Regions from separate parts of the Homo sapiens genome. Here region 1 is linked to region 2. The links are contacts of gene promoters, found by promoter capture Hi-C in blood cells and fetal thymus (Javierre and others, 2016). All regions are on one chromosome and are shown on one strand. Each heading gives the region's core, a stretch centred on a gene start or on the middle of the fragment in contact. The rest is flanking DNA. Distances are from core to core; before and after follow the strand shown.

Region 1 (4,145 bases), core at 1,578-4,077, 210 kb after region 2:
ATATGACCATCATCTCCCCATTCTCTTTCCCCCAGTCTCTAGTAACAACCTACTTCTAGAAGTTTGACTTTTTTAGATTCCACATTTAAATGAGATCTTGCAGTATTTGTCTTTCTGTGCTTGGCTTATTTCACTTACCATAATGCCCCCCAGATTCATCCATATTGTCACAAGTAACAGAATTTACTTCTCTTTTAAGGGTGAATAGTATTTCACCGTGTATATATACCACATTTTTAAAATTCATCCCAATGAACACTTAGATTGCTTCCATATATTGGCTGTTGTAAATAATGCTGCAAAAGAAGACATGCAAATGGACAACAGGATATGAAAACATGCTCAACATCACTAATCATCAGGGAGATGCAAATTAAAACCACAATAAGATATTACTTCACTCCTACAGACTGGCTATTATCAAAACAACAGAAACAAAGATAAGTATTAGTGAGGCTGTGGAGAAAAGGGAACACTTTACACATTGTGGTTGCAGTTGTGAAGTAGTATAACCATTTGCAGAAGACAGTATGAAAGCTCCTCAAAAAACTAGAAATAGAATTACTATATGATCCCAGCAATCTCACTTCTGGGTATACATCCAAACGAATTGAAATCAATATGTTGAAGATATATCTGCACTCCCATATCTTTCATTTATTTTTGAGTCAACTATCCACTATCCACCAGATGGTACAGTGGGTAGCTGCTTTGGATTTTTGAGGAGAGAAGGGATTGAAAATGTTTTCCTGTTTATGTCCAACCTGGAGGTTGATACAAGTGAAGATCGCTTTGTGTAATGTGTTTTGTTAATATTTGTTAATGATTTTGTTCATATCACTATGAAAAGAAAAATTATAAATGTATCCCACATTAGTAAAATGAAATCAGCTTGACATTGACAATTCAAATGCCACTGTAAATATCATGGTCAACACTTCAGAAGACAAATCAAAATGGAGTGTTGAATGAGAAATTAAAATCAGCACATATATCCCATTTTTCTCATATTGCTCTCATTTGACTAGAAGCTGCAAGACAGTCACTCTTCTCTGAAAAAAAAAAAAAAAAAAACAGCAAGAACAGTAACAAAGAAATCCAGTCATCCAGTCAATTATGGGAGAAGTTTCTCCAGTTCAACAAGAGGAATCGAATGACCTATAAGAATACAGCAACTCAGATTGTGATGTCATGAAAGCCTGCTTTCCAACACCACAGGAAGAACTTTCAGATGCAAGCAGATTTCTGAGGAAATACTTACATACTGACGGGTTAAGAGAACATCATGTTTGCAAAGTACTTTAGTAAACAGTACAAAAATATCCATTCTATATGTGAATGTGTGCATATACATGTATGCATATATATATACATACACATATATAAACAAATATGCACATATACACACATACTATCCAATATCAGCCTTAACCTTCTCCTGATCTTAACTGAAATTTTAGACAAATTTCTTCCTAACTATAGTTCTCTGGCCTCCCTTTTCTTATAGTATTTACTTTAGAAAACTTGCAATTATAAATTATTTCTCAGCCGCTTTGAGGTGTAAATCTTTTCCAACCTATTGCCAGTTTTACAACTCAGTAATGTCATTTTCAAGGACCTAGAAGCCTTCTCTTTGAAATGTAACCAAGAAAGATTACGTAAAGCAAATGTAGCACATTAACATTTAAGAAGTCTGAGTCAAGACTAGCTATTTACACATTCTTTGTCTCTTTCTCACAACTTTTTCTGTAAGTCTGAAATTATTTTTATTTTATGAAAGTAAAAAATCGCTCCCCTCCTGAGTTTATTCATTAATTAGAAAGCTGATAAAGAAAAGAATCAAGTACTTCTCCTGCAAACTCTTATACAAACCGTAACAAAGAGTAACCTAATAATTGATGAGGTGAAGTCGCTATTTATGAAAGTACTTCAGCCAATAAATGAATAGGGAATGATTGAATTAAACTTTCAACGTTTTGTGTCATGAATTAAGGGACCTAGTTAATGACCATCAGTTGCTGCTGACATTACATAAAAGAGACACTAGATAGTAAATGCCTCTGAATGTAACTACACAACTCTTATTATGAAATAGTAGGGCTTTTTGCCCCTCATAAAATTATTCCAACTTGAATCTTACCAAGTATCTACCTTGCTACCAATACACAGGATATATATAGAAAAAAGAAGAAGATGTTGAACTACATACGGAGGTGCAATCAGCAAATCAAGACTGTGGAAAACCCTAAAAGACAAATGACTCAATTCATGCAAGCAACAAAAACAATAGCAAAAACAAAGGTAAAAGATATAACTAGTCACCATAGTGAATCCCTGTATAATTTACTTAAAAACAGAAAATGTACTGACTTAAATGTACTTAAAAATCAGGGAAATGTACTGACCGATAAAATCACATGATGTCTGATATTTCACCTTGATTGGAGAGTGAGTCGATGCTTGTTGAAGCTGGGTGATGGGCACGTGGTAGTTTACTCACTCATGGGAGATACACACTCACCTTGATTGGGGAGTGAGTTGAAGCTGGGTGATGGGCACATGGTAGTTCATTAAGTTATTATGTCTATATTACTTAATGTTTACATTTTTTCATAACAAAAATTCAAATAATATAAAAACTCTTGTCTCTACATTAGTCACTGGGAGCAGAGAACGTAAGTGAAGATCTATTCTACTAATTTCATCATGGTCAGAATAAGATCATGGCATGAAGCTGAACAATGAAAGCAAAGAAAAAAAAAAGGCATGTAGAAAATAGAAATGAGGGCTGGGCATGGTGACTCAGCCTGTAATCCCAGCACTTTGGGAGGCAGAAGCGGGCAGATCGCTTGAGCTCAGGAGCTCAAGACCAGCCTGGGCAACATGGCAAAACCCTGTGTCTACAAAAAATACAAAAATTAGCCCAGCATGATGGTGCGCACCTGTGGTCCCAGCGACTTGGGGGGCTGAGGTAAGAAGGTAGCTTGAGCCTGGGAGGTTGAGGCTGCATTGAGCTGAGATCACGCCACTGCACTCCAGCCTGGGTGACAAAGTAAGAACCTGTCTCCAAAAAAAAAAAGAAAGAAAGTAGAAATGATTATCCCGGAACACCTTGACAATCCCACCTGTGGTAATTTTCTTCTAGAGCAGATTACTATGGTGAAACCAAGCAGTAAAATTTAGCATTGGGCAAAATGTTTTAAGAAAGAGAAAAAGTGGCTCACGTCTGTAATCCCAACACTTTGGAAGGCTGAGGCGGGCGGATCACTTCAGGTCAGGAGTTCAAGTCCAGCCTGGCCAACATGGTGAAACCCCATCTCTAGTAAAAATACAAAAATTAGCTGGGCATGATGGCGGGCACCTGTAATCCCAGCTACTTAGGAGGCTGAGGCAGGAGAATCGCCTGAACCCGGGAAGTGGAGGTTACAGTGAACTGAGATCATGCCACTGCACTCCAGCCTGGGCAACAGAGTGAGACTCTGTCTCAAAAATGAACGAACAAACAAAAGACAGAGAGAAAGAGAAAAGAAGAAAGAAAGAGAGAGAAAGAAAGAAAGAAAAAGAAAGAAAGAAAGAAAGAAAGAAAGAAAGAAAGAAAGAAAGAAAGAAAGAAAGAAAGAAAGAAAGGGGAGGGAAGGAGGGAAGGAAGGAAGGAAGGAAGAAGGAAGGAAGGAAGGAAGGAAGGAAGGAAGGAAGGAAGGAAGGAAGGAAAGGAAGGAAGGATGGAAAGAAGGAAGGAAGGAAATGCTGCTGCCAAATTGGTATCATCCCCAGAGAGCAAGTCACACCTTTAGTCATGCCTTTTGCCTGGACAGAAGAAGCAATTCTCTATCTTTGTGGTACCTGGGCTTATTAGAACCCGTGCTCCTAGAGATTAATTATACAAGTTTGTTTGCTATATAATAGATTCTCTTACTTTGGAGATTTAATCTGTCCTTGATTCTTTTCCCCATCCTTGGCCACCAGCCCATTAGAAGCCTCATCTCATGATACTGTAAAAATATTTTCTCATCTTTTTTGTTAAATTAAGCTAAAACAGTTAAGTGACCACGTACAACAAAAGATAAAGGAAAAGTCTTTGGTGAAAGTTATCCCCTCATTCTGGCTTTTTAGAATTCTTGAGCTTTTCGAACATCTTAATAACA
Region 2 (4,709 bases), core at 795-3,294:
AGCAGGCTTGTATCCTATTTAGTGCCTCAGAGGGCCAAACTGGCTCTAGAATCATACTGTATAGGGCTGGGGAGGGGATGAGGGTCCACTTCAAGGTCTGTAAATGGTGGGTCTATTATTAGGTGTGTAGTTGGGGAAGAGTTTATCTAGTTTGCTGGGAAGGCTGCTCATGGGTCTCTGAGTGGGTTCCTCAACCTGTGGCACAGAGGAGTTAGTGCTAAGTCACAAGGTTTCCTCGGGGTCTATAGCTGAAACCAGTGTCTTCATGTCTGTCTCTGGGGTCATGGTTGAGTGTGTTTTCTGGCAGGTCTGTGGGCAGGCAGATTTGCCTCAGACTGTAGTTGAGTTGGGCTGGAGCTGGATCCAGAATTGTTTCAAGATCTGAAATAAAACTAAGGTCTGTGCCTGCAGGGGCACTAATGATGTCTCTCTCCAGGTCCCTGTATGGGCAAACTGCTCTCTAGCATAGCTGAGAAGTGTCGAAGCCCCTTTTCTGTCCAATTAAAGGATCTGCTGTGAAACCTAGGTCAATGGTCTCCTAGTTGGGACATGGATGCACATGTCCTCCCTCTGTATCCCTGAGCTGGCAAGACTGCTCACAGTCCACAGCTGAGAAGGGTGAAGGTCAAGATTCAAGGCTGTTTCAGAAACTACCGTGGAACTGAAGTCAGCAAGCCTGTACTGCTGACAAAGATGATTGAGTCTCACAGCAATTTCCTGTGATTAACTCAGGTCACAGTTGAGAGGAGTTTGAGTGGAGATTCAGGGCCATTTTAGTATCTTCTGTAGGACAGAGGTCAGCAAGCATGCCCCAGAGGTACAGATGTATATGTCTCCCAGGAAGTCTCTGTGGGTGAAGGACTGATCTCAAGTTGTGGCTGACACTAGTTAAAGCCAAGTTAGAGGGCTGTTTCAGGGTCTACATTGAGACTACAGTTGATATGCCTACCTCCTGAGACACTAGTGTGTGAGTCTCCTCCTGGGCCCCTGGGCAAATGGTTTTGGCAGCATGACCAAGGCCTAAATGGGGCTGAAGGCAAGCACAGGAGGATGGGTCCCTTTTCAGGTCTGGAGATGGAATCACTGTTGGTAAGTCTGCCACTTGGATGCAAATCTATTCCCTAAAACAACCTTCCTAGGTCTTGGGTTCCACTGGCATTTTACAAACTCCTACTTGAATTCCAAACTCCCTCAAAGGAACTTTTGTCTGTGGATGGCTGAAAAATTATTGTTGCTGTGGGGGCATATGTGTGGGGGACCACCTATTCTGCCAATTTACTGACTTTCCTCCTAGTAAGATTTTAAAATTACTTTTTCCCCATACATAGTTTGACTTCAGTTTTTGTCATTTACAACTAAATATTTCTATGAAAGTCGACATAATTTGTTATGGCGGAGGATGAATAAATGAAGAATGTAATGAATAGCTATTTAATATTTCAATTTCTGGTATGCTAATATATTTCAAAATTGATTAATATTTTACCTATCCAAGATATTTTTATCAAGGGTAATCTGAAGATTAAATAATCTATTTTTAAAAATTAAGTGCAAAAATTTAAGAACTAAGAGAAGTTAATAATATAACTTTGGCAATGATGCTTTTTGTGCCAGCTACAATCAATTGAGTAATTACTGCAGTAATTTTTCAGAATAATTAAGGAAAAAATCAGTAGATATCAGTTGATAATATTACTATGAGTTTTAGAATGTTTTCTATTATAATGGAAGTGACATAATAAAATAATATAAAGAAAAGAAGTATGCAATGTTAAGATTTAGCAACCTAGTCTAAAAGGCACTCTTAACAAGGTGAGGGTTGACAATGTTCGTGATCAAGACAGAAAAAAAAAAAATTCTCATAGGCACTTGAAAAATGAACCAACTAAATGACACACTTTCAAAGTCAACCTTGTACTTTTAATAGACCAAGTATCCTATATTTTGGAGGTGTGTGATGAGATAAAACTGATTTCACAATAGCCCATGTGTAGAATTTCCTGTTCAAACCTTAGTAACACGTTGATGAGAAATCTACTTTTTCCACTCTTGACTCACTCTGAGCCTTCACAGGGCAGTCTGCGAAGATTGCAGGCATTGTTTGTTCTTGTCTTGGATTTATGCCTTTAAATTTCACCTTTTATTACACAGCTATAGCAGGCCTTTTTATGAGACTAACCTGGCCTCTCCACTAAAGGATGTGTGACTTTCTGGGGACAGAAGGTATGTATTGCTACTCTCCAACTCTCTACTAGCCTACCTCATTTAGTGGGTGATTTCAAGTGCTCAATATGATACAAAGGAGGTATAATTAATATACAATAAAATCAAAGTAGAATATTGCTGTCTTCATTTGAATAACTCAGGGTAAAAACCTAAAATATGAAATATGTTGAAGGATTTCTTAAAGTTTTCAAATTATTGTTTGTGGAAATCTAGTGGGTTTGTTGATCAATATCGTTTAAGGGAAAGCTATTAACATCACAATAATGAACAATTAATTTTGTATTTTGTAATCAGTACATCATGTATCTTTGAATAATAATTTATATTTAGCTTAGCCATTAAAGATTATTAAAATAAATCAATCAATTGATGAAAGCCAAATACAATTCCTCAGACACGTAGATTAGAGAAAAGCAGTTTTTATTTTTAATAAAAATCAGAATGAGGTAGATTACATAAAATGCTAAAGGTATTACAAAGCAATAAAAATACTTTTTAAAAATTGATCAAAATATTGCAAAAAAAGATGTAGCGCATGGACATAGGAGACTTATCTGAAGATTTATTTTCCATGCTTTAACTGACATGAATCAGAAACAGTAACATAACAATTGTGACTAAAATAATAATTAAAGTAGCTAATGCTTATTGAGAACTTTAAGTGCCAGGTTGAGTGGTAAATGTTTTACATGCAACGTTTTATATGTTCTTATGCCCATTTTAGATTAACAAACTGGGTTATTAAAAATAGAATAACTTTTTAAAGGTCGCACATTATAAGTGTCAAAGCTAGAATTAATTCTAGATCTCACTGACTCCAGAGCCCATTGACTAAATGATTTAATTACATTATCTGAAATTTTACAAGTACTTATACAACTAAAGTGGCCTTTACTCACTTTGACAACCATAAAATCATTCTATAAGTTTAAATGAAATGTGCTTTAACATGAATTACCTATACTTTTATTTATCATTTTTTGGTTCATAATTTAGCCAGGAAATAAATTACCAATTACTAATTAAATTACCAATACTTCTGTAAGTATTAACAATTTATGTAGTGTTCCTAATACTATTTAGGTTATGCATAAGTTAACTGTGTCACATAGCATTTTCTGTCATATACAAATATTTAATTTTTTATAATTTTTAATAAATAATTTTTAATAATTTCTTAGAACATTTCAGCCATTAAGAAAAGACCATTTAATTACCTCTATTGATTTTCATTAATGTGTATAAATTACTAATTAAAAGTAATGTAGTGCAAGAAATTTTTATATATATATATGTCAACTTTACTATTACTCATGTGCAGACCACATAGTCTTAACCATTACTGGATTTCAAAATTAACATAAAAATGAGTGCAGAAGTTTTTCTAATACAACATTTTAATTTTTAACACAGGTAAAACATCAGACTTTAAGAAATATATTTTTATTCCTGAACTTCTTTATTCCTTAGTAATTTATTGCTTCTCATTGCCCCAGCAATAATATTTTGTCAAATGCAGAAAATTTATCTTTTTTTTTTGAGTCGGAGTCTCACTCTGTCGCCCAGGCTGGAGTGCAGTGGCACAATCTCCGCTCACTGCAACCTCTGCCGCCCATGTTCAAGAGATTCTCCTGCCTCAGCCTCCCGAGTAGCTAGGACTACAGGCGCCTGACATCATGCCCGACTACTTTTTGTATTTTTAGTAGAGACGGAGTTTCACCGTGTTAGCCAGGATGGTCTCGATCTCCTGACCTCGTGATCGGCATGCCTCGGCCTCCCAAAGTGCTGGGATTACAGGCGTGAGCCACCGCGCCCGGCCTAAAAATCTTTTTTTAAAACAAATATTCATAAGAAACGTGTTTAGGCTTGAAGAAAATCAGAGAAAGAACTTTAGATTATTTAATGCAAAATGAGCTCCAATACTCGTTCTCCACCTCACCCTTTTAATTGCACTAGGGAATCCTGTATATAAACCATTTATTAACTTCTTAACTACTGTTATTATAGAGTACAGTCCCTGACATCACACACTGCAGAGATGGATAACCAAGGAGTAATCTACTCAGACCTGAATCTGCCCCCAAACCCAAAGAGGCAGCAACGAAAACCTAAAGGCAATAAAAACTCCATTTTAGCAACTGAACAGGAAATAACCTATGCGGAATTAAACCTTCAAAAAGCTTCTCAGGATTTTCAAGGGAATGACAAAACCTATCACTGCAAAGGTAAAGCATTTAAAAGATCCTCAATATAACAGTCTAGGATGTGCAGCTTGGGGTACAGGAATGTGGGGAAAGAGAAGGGAGTGCTCATATATCTTCTATTTGCAAAGATCAGAATTCCAAGTTGAGATATGCTATTTCAATGTAAAGTATGAAGACTGATTGAACTCATTGTTGAAGTTTGTAGTCTTTGTCAAATAATTCATGGAGCATTATTTTTCCTGAAAATTCAATGGTATATTATTCTGAGAAAAAGATTAC

Evidence for each region. The method cuts DNA at HindIII sites, captures the fragments that hold promoters and counts their contacts. A CHiCAGO score of 5 or more calls a contact.
Region 1: a fragment that was not itself captured here is called in contact with the fragment with the promoter of KLRC1 in region 2 in 1 of 17 cell types (total CD8 T cells); the score reaches 5.8 in total CD8 T cells.

The regions. Positions count from the first base shown.
Region 1 is chr12:10,239,001-10,243,145 of GRCh38, reverse strand. It overlaps a transcript of KLRD1 not described here. Among named protein-coding and RNA genes, the nearest start is that of GABARAPL1-AS1, 26 kb to the right of the region's middle. The HindIII fragment of the contact is 5,718 bases long and covers 1-4,145 here.
Region 2 is chr12:10,450,712-10,455,420 of GRCh38, reverse strand. It overlaps KLRC1 (killer cell lectin like receptor C1), which reads left to right and starts at 2,044. Exons shown (of 7, transcript NM_002259.5): 1 at 2,044-2,223; 2 at 4,234-4,451. The coding sequence starts at 4,265. The HindIII fragment of the contact is 4,540 bases long and covers 1-4,408 here.